2 separate regions of the Homo sapiens genome follow, and region 1 is linked to region 2. Evidence: promoter capture Hi-C in human tissues and cell types (Jung and others, 2019). All regions are on one chromosome and are shown on one strand. The core of a region is centred on a gene start or on the middle of the fragment in contact, and the rest is flanking DNA. Distances in the headings are between cores, read along the strand shown. Region 1 overlaps EIF3B (eukaryotic translation initiation factor 3 subunit B). Region 2 holds the start of AMZ1 (archaelysin family metallopeptidase 1).

Region 1 (3,074 bases), core at 302-2,801, 320 kb before region 2:
TCAAGCAATTCTCCTGCCCCACCCTCCCAAGTAGCCGGGATTACAGGCGCACACTACCACGCCTGGCTTGCTTGCTTGCTTATTTATTTATTTATTTATTTATTGAGACAGAGTCTTGCTCTGTCACCCAGGCTGGAGTGCAGTGGCACGATCTTGGCTCACTGCAACCTCCGCCTCCCAGGCTCAAGCAATTCTCCTGCCTTAGCCTCCTGAGTAGCTGGGATTATAAGCATGTGCCACCATGCCCGGCTAATTTTTGTATATTTAGCAGAGACAGGGTTTCACCATGTTGGCCGGGCTGGTCTCGAACTCCTGACCTCAAGTGATCTGCCCACCTTGGCCTCCCAAAGTGCTGGGATTACAGGTGTGAACCATTGCGCCCAGCCAAGATTTTTTTTTAAACAGCTTTATTGAGATAATTGATATACAGTAAATCTGCATAGTTTTAAAGCGTACAATTTAATACATTTTGATGTGTACATATCACGAAACCATCGCCACAGTCAAAATAATGGACGTTTTGATTAACTTTTCTATAATTATGATAATGAAACTAGAGACTTCGGATCTTCTGGTTAGGATTTCCCTGTCACTTAGGAGCTCCCTGGCTGTGGATCTGTCCCCCGTGTGACTGCCTTAGGCTCGAGGCAGGAAGAGCAGCACAGATACTCCTGGCACCGAGGGCTTGTCCGTGGAGAGGGGTGGGGCGGACAGCGCATACCTGCCTAGCCTTACAGTGTGGGTATGTGCCAACGGCCCTCTCTCACTCAGGTATATTTTCCTGGAGTACGCGTCCCCTGCCCACGCTGTGGATGCTGTGAAGAACGCCGACGGCTACAAGCTTGACAAGCAGCACACATTCCGGGTCAACCTCTTTACGGATTTTGACAAGTGAGTTCAGACTTGGCCACAAGGAAGTGGACGTTGACGTGCAAGTGACTGGCTGTGTGCGGGTGGCTTGGTGCTTCTCGGTGCTGGTGTCTGTCAGATTGTTCACATCCTTTCTGGTCAGGCTGCCGCAGAGCCATTTCACAGCCCTGCCCCACACTTCTGGCCTACAGCACCCCTCCCTGTTATGCCAGTCACAGCCCTGGGGGCGGGCAGGCAGGAGCACAGCAGGGCCATGCTGGAGCCCCCACGAGTTGCTCTTTCTAGTCGTCAGGGCGTGGGGCTCAGCAGTCTCCTTTCTTCTCCAGGTATATGACGATCAGTGACGAGTGGGATATTCCAGAGAAACAGCCTTTCAAAGACCTGGTGAGTGGCCTGAAACCTACATCTCAGTGGTTTAAAGAAATGCTGCTGGGTGTGGTGGGTCACACCTGCAATCCCAGCACTTAGGGAGGCTGAGGTGGGAGGATCGCTTAAGCCCAGGAATTCAAGACCAGCCTGGGCAACAAAGTGAGACCCCCGCCTCTACAAAAAGTAAATAAATACATACATTAGCTGGGCCTGGCATGCACCTGTATTCCCAGCTACCTGGGAGGCTGAGGGGGGAGGATCACTTGAGCCTGGGAGGTTGAGCCTGGGAGGTTGAGGCTGCCGTGAGCTATGATTGTGCCACTGGACTCCAGCCTGGGCAACAGCGTGACTCTGTCTCAAAAAAAAAAGAAATGCTAGACGGTGTCTTGACTTGAGGTTAGGGTGTGACTTGGGAGTTAAGATGTGGACTGAACTTGTCATATCTTTAAGAGCAATAGTTGTGAATGAGTTTTTTATTAAAATTAATGAAATGTTATATTCCTTGTCTTTGTTTTTAAGGGGAACTTACGTTACTGGCTTGAAGAGGCAGAATGCAGAGATCAGTACAGTGTGATTTTTGAGAGTGGAGACCGCACTTCCATATTCTGGAATGACGTAAAAGACCCTGTCTCAATTGAAGAAAGAGCGGTGTGTATTTGCTGCTGCTGGGGGCGGGGACTCACCTCTCCTGTATTTCCTTAACAAAGTGGAACTTTGTTTCTATCAGAAAACTGGAAGAGCAGGTGACGTTATATTTTCTTTGAGATTACTTTCTGAAAACAACTTCTTTTATTCCTCTTCCAGCTTTGAAGTAAATCCTGAGAAGTGAACAGGCTTTGTGTATTTCACTTAAGAGTTTGCAGAATAGGCCGGGCGCGGTGGCTCACGCCTGTAATCCCAGCACTTTGGGAGGCCAAGGTGGGTGGATCACGAGGTCAGGAGATTGAGACCATCCTGGCTAACACGGTGAAACCCCGTCTCTACTAAAAATACAAAAAAATTAGCTGGGCATGGTGGCAGGCACCTGTAGTCCCCGCTACTCGGGAGGCTGAGGCAGGAGAATGGCATGAACCTGGGAGGTGGAGCTTGCAGTGAGCTGAGATTGCGCCACTGCACTCCAGCCTGGGAGACAGCGAGACTCCGTCTCAAAAAAAAAAAAAGTTTGTAGAACAGATTCATTGTAGGATAAATTCATTGTAGGAGGGGTCTTTGTGTTTGCCATTTTGTTGTATTAACGTTGGCACTGCCTTTTTCTGCAGAGATGGACAGAGACGTATGTGCGTTGGTCTCCTAAGGGCACCTACCTGGCTACCTTTCATCAAAGAGGCATTGCTCTATGGGGGGGAGAGAAATTCAAGCAAATTCAGAGATTCAGCCACCAAGGGGTTCAGCTTATTGACTTCTCACCTTGTGAAAGGTAAGCTGCTAGAAAAACACAGGGGAGTCTATGCATTTCACCCCATGCCAGCCTTCTACAGGTGATCTTTCATTTTGTAGCATTTCAAACTTAGTAGAAAAATACGGGAGTATGCAGAACGCTAATAAGCTTTTTACTGAGATCTTCTCACATTTGGTTGCATTTACGTCATCATCTCCTATACAGATATTTTTTCCTGAGCCATTTGGGAGTGAGTTGAAATAACATGTCCCTTTAGCCCTGAATGTGTATTCCTAGAAATAGGATTTTGTTAGTGTGACCATAGTGTGGGTACTGACTTCAGGGATTTACCATTCATTTAATACTTCAATGTATTGCCATATTCTGATTTTGTTACTTGACCTAATAATGTTCTGTATAATACTTACTTTCCTTCAGTTCAGGATCTAGTCTAAGG
Region 2 (3,415 bases), core at 484-2,983:
GGCTACAGTGACTCGCGTTTATACCAGTGCATTCTAGCTTGGGCAATAGAGCAAGATCCTGTCTCAAAAAAAACTTTTTAAAAATACATTTCAATGTGGAGGAGAAGGCGATCAGAAGGATGTCTGACAAGAAGGTGAGAGAGGTTACCTCTACACAGTTGGCTTATGGGGTCTTCTTTTTGTTTTTATTTTTCATAATTTTCCAAATTTTGCACACCGGACACCTAGTGTTGTGTTGTTTTTCTCTCTCTCTCTTTTTTTTTTGAAACAAAGTCTTGCTTTGTCACCCAGGCTGGAGTGCAGTGGCATAATCTCGGCTCACTGCAACCTCCGCCTCCCGGGTTCAAGTGATTCTCCTGCTTCAGCCTCCCGAGTAGCTGGGACTATAGGCACCAGCCACCACGCCCAGCTAATTTTTTTATTTTTAATAGAGACGGGGTTTGACCATACTGGCCAGGCCGGTCTTGAACTCCTGACCTTGTGATCTGTCTGCCTCAGCCTCCCAAAGTGCTGGGATTACAGGCATGAGCCACCACGCCCAGCCGTGTTATTTCTTAAGGCTTAAAAAAATTCTTTGAGGCTGGGTGTGGTGGCTCACGCCTGTACTCCCAGCACTTTGAGAGGCTGAGGCGGGTGTATCATGAGGTCAAGAGTTTGATACCAGCCTGGCCAAGAAGGTGAAACCCCATCTCTATTAAAAATACAAAAATTAGCTGGACACAATGATGGGTACCTATAATCCCCACTACTCAGGCGGCTGAGGCAGAAGAATGACTTGAACCCCGGAGGTGGAGGTTGCAGTGAGCCCAGATTGCACCATTACACTCCAGCCTGGGCGACAGAGCGAGACTCCATCTAAAAAAAAAAAAAAATTCTTTGCACTGGTGTGGGACGATGGTGACGAATCCCTCAGCCATCTGTGGGGCGCTGCTGAGGGCGTGGGGGGCATTTCTGCACGGTGAAGCAGAGCTGGTGGGAGGCTGCCCGAGGGAAGCTGGTGCTGGGAGGGTTTGCAGAGAGGAAAAGGGCAGTTTATGGAAAAGGCCTCTGGGCTCTGTCTGGAGCCGTCATGCCGGCCTTCACGGCATCCTTCCGCACTTAGAGTCCTTTCCATCTCCTGGTGGCTGGCACAGGGCCAGGGCTGCACTCACAGCTGGCCAGGGTAGGGCAGGGCGCCCGTCCTCAGGGCCACTGACTGTAGGGCTAACCTAGGGGCCTGGTTCACCCCTCTCACCTGGGGCTTCGCTGATAAGCCTGGTTCACCTCCTCACCTGGTGGCCTCGTTCACCCCCTCACCTGGCGCCTTGCCTGATAGCCTGGTTCACCCCTCTCACCTGGGGCCTCTCCTGGTGGCCTGGTTCCCCTTCCTCACCTCGTGGCGCTGGTTCACCCCTCTCACCTGGGGCCTTAACTGGTGGCCTGGTTCACCTCTTCACCTGGCGCCTTGCAGAGTAGCCGGGTTTACTCCTCTCACCTGGGGAGGCACGAACTGGCCCGGGCTGACTGACCTCCCTCACCTGTTTGGCTTTAGGCTCTGGGGCCCCCCTGCCCGGGTGTTTCTGGGAGGCTGGAGGGTCCCACGTGAGCTCCACCGCGGGCAGCTGGAGGGAGTGGGGCAGGACGCTGAGCGCCGGGAGGGGTGTGGCCCTCCTGTCCTGCCCGCGGCCCCACACCGGCCCCAGTCCCGCCCGCCTCGGTCCCTGCCCCGCGCGCCGACGTCACCGGGACCTCCCGATCCTCCCGGCCCAGGCCGAGCTGCCCACGCTGCTGCCCGGGGCTCGGTGCCCGGCGCGGCCTCTGCCGGCTCCGGCGGGCGCGGGACTGCGAGGTAGGGGGGCGCGCGGGGAAGACTCGGGGGCGCAGGGACCGAGAGGGACCTCCGTGCCGGGGCGGGTGGGTAGGGGCAGCTCCGGGTCCAGCCCGGCCCGCGCACCAAGTCCCGAGGGCGCCCGGGCGGCGGCGGCTACGGGCGCGCGGGGACCGCGGAGACGCGAAGGGCGCACTTGGCGAGGGTTTGGTGCAGCGCCGCGCCGGGGTCCGCACAGCCCCGGCAGGTCCTGCAGAGGGAAGGCCGGGCCAGGGAAGGGCCACGCGCCCCCTCCCCGCCATCCTCTCCCAGGCCAGGGCGACCTGCGCGCTTCCCGATGGGAGCAAACTGGGGACGGGTCGGGAATCCAGGGCCAAGCGCCCGAAAGAAGGCGTTTCCGGGCTGGGGCGAGCCAGGTGGGTGCGGGACGTCCCCGGGGAACCTCCAGGGCGCCGAGAATCTCGTCGTGCCCAGGGCTCCCCGCAGCCTGTGTATGAGCCGGGGAGGGAGAAGGCTTCCTCCCCCAGGAGACTGAGGGAGAAGGCTGTGGATATGATCCCTGCAGGGATGTAAGACAGGTCTCAAAACCAGAAAAGCAAGGGAGGGGTGACAGAGAAATGGCAAACTTTACAAAGGACAGGGGAGGGCAGGGACCTGGGTCCTTTCTGCCCCCATCACGGGAGGGAAACACTTGGCAGAGGAGTTTGGGGTTCGCAGGTGAGGAGAGAGAACAGGAAGCCAAGAGTCTGGCCCGGAGGCCACTACCCCTGCGGTCTAAGCCCCCGGTTTTCCCTCCTAGCGAATGGAAACTGAGAGGTGAGAAACCCCCAAAACCATCCGTCCGTCTGGTTCTGCCTGAAGGTCTCCGCTGTCAGCTAATGAATAGCTCGATGCAGCTGCTGGGAGGTTTTGCAAAGCGCATTCAGAATAGCGAGAATCAGAGCATGGTTTCTTGCCCAAAGGCCAGGCATCTGCGTGGTCAGATGGGGGAGCATGAGTGCCCGGAGCTGTGCGGTTTAGGGCAGCCTGACCTTGGATACCTGGTTACTGGGCCAGTCTGGCGGCCCTTGTTGCTTAGAGCGGCAGAACCTCCCTGGGGGGGGGATGCGGACGTGCTCTTTTCCAGTCTTTGGACAAAAAAAGGCAAGGGGAGGAGGAAGGAGAAGCGTCTGAGTTTACCCATGGTATTAATAGCAGCAGGGCTGGAACTCGGGTGCTCTGGGAGAGGAGACGTCCTACCCCCTGTCCCCGTCAGAACATCCCTGCTCCAGGAGCAGCTGGGGTTCCAGTGTGAAGCGTGGCTTTGAAACCAGGCCCCGCTGGCCCCCAGCTGTGTCGCCAGGGCCAAGTCACTTAACGTCTGAGCCTCAGTTTCCCCACCTGAAACACCGCAGTGGCACCTGCGGCTCCGTGTGTGGCTTGGAGGACGCAGGCATGAGACCTGTTGGCTGCTGTCATGACTGCAGTTAGCAGAGGAGGGGGACACACTGTGACAGGGTCCAAAGGACAGCGAGAAACCTCCATCTGGGGGTCTCCTTTTTGGAGCATGGATGGGTTGGTGAGTGCCAGAGGGTGCTGCGAAGCTGACCCCCACTAAGGCGGCTCCCT

Evidence for each region. The method cuts DNA at HindIII sites, captures the fragments that hold promoters and counts their contacts. A contact is called where the count stands out against the background at its distance.
Region 1: a fragment that was not itself captured here is called in contact with the fragment with the promoter of AMZ1 in region 2 in 1 of the 25 tissues and cell types used here (dorsolateral prefrontal cortex).

The regions. Positions count from the first base shown.
Region 1 is chr7:2,361,874-2,364,947 of GRCh38, forward strand. EIF3B (eukaryotic translation initiation factor 3 subunit B) reads left to right here. Exons shown (of 19, transcript NM_001037283.2): 3 at 772-891; 4 at 1,197-1,254; 5 at 1,759-1,887; 6 at 2,499-2,656. Among named protein-coding and RNA genes, the nearest start is that of EIF3B, 8.6 kb to the left of the region's middle. The HindIII fragment of the contact is 3,706 bases long and covers 1-3,074 here.
Region 2 is chr7:2,686,469-2,689,883 of GRCh38, forward strand. AMZ1 (archaelysin family metallopeptidase 1) reads left to right here and starts at 1,734. Exons shown (of 7, transcript NM_001384743.1): 1 at 1,734-1,828. RefSeq lists an enhancer at 2,433-2,702. The HindIII fragment of the contact is 48,320 bases long and covers 1-3,415 here.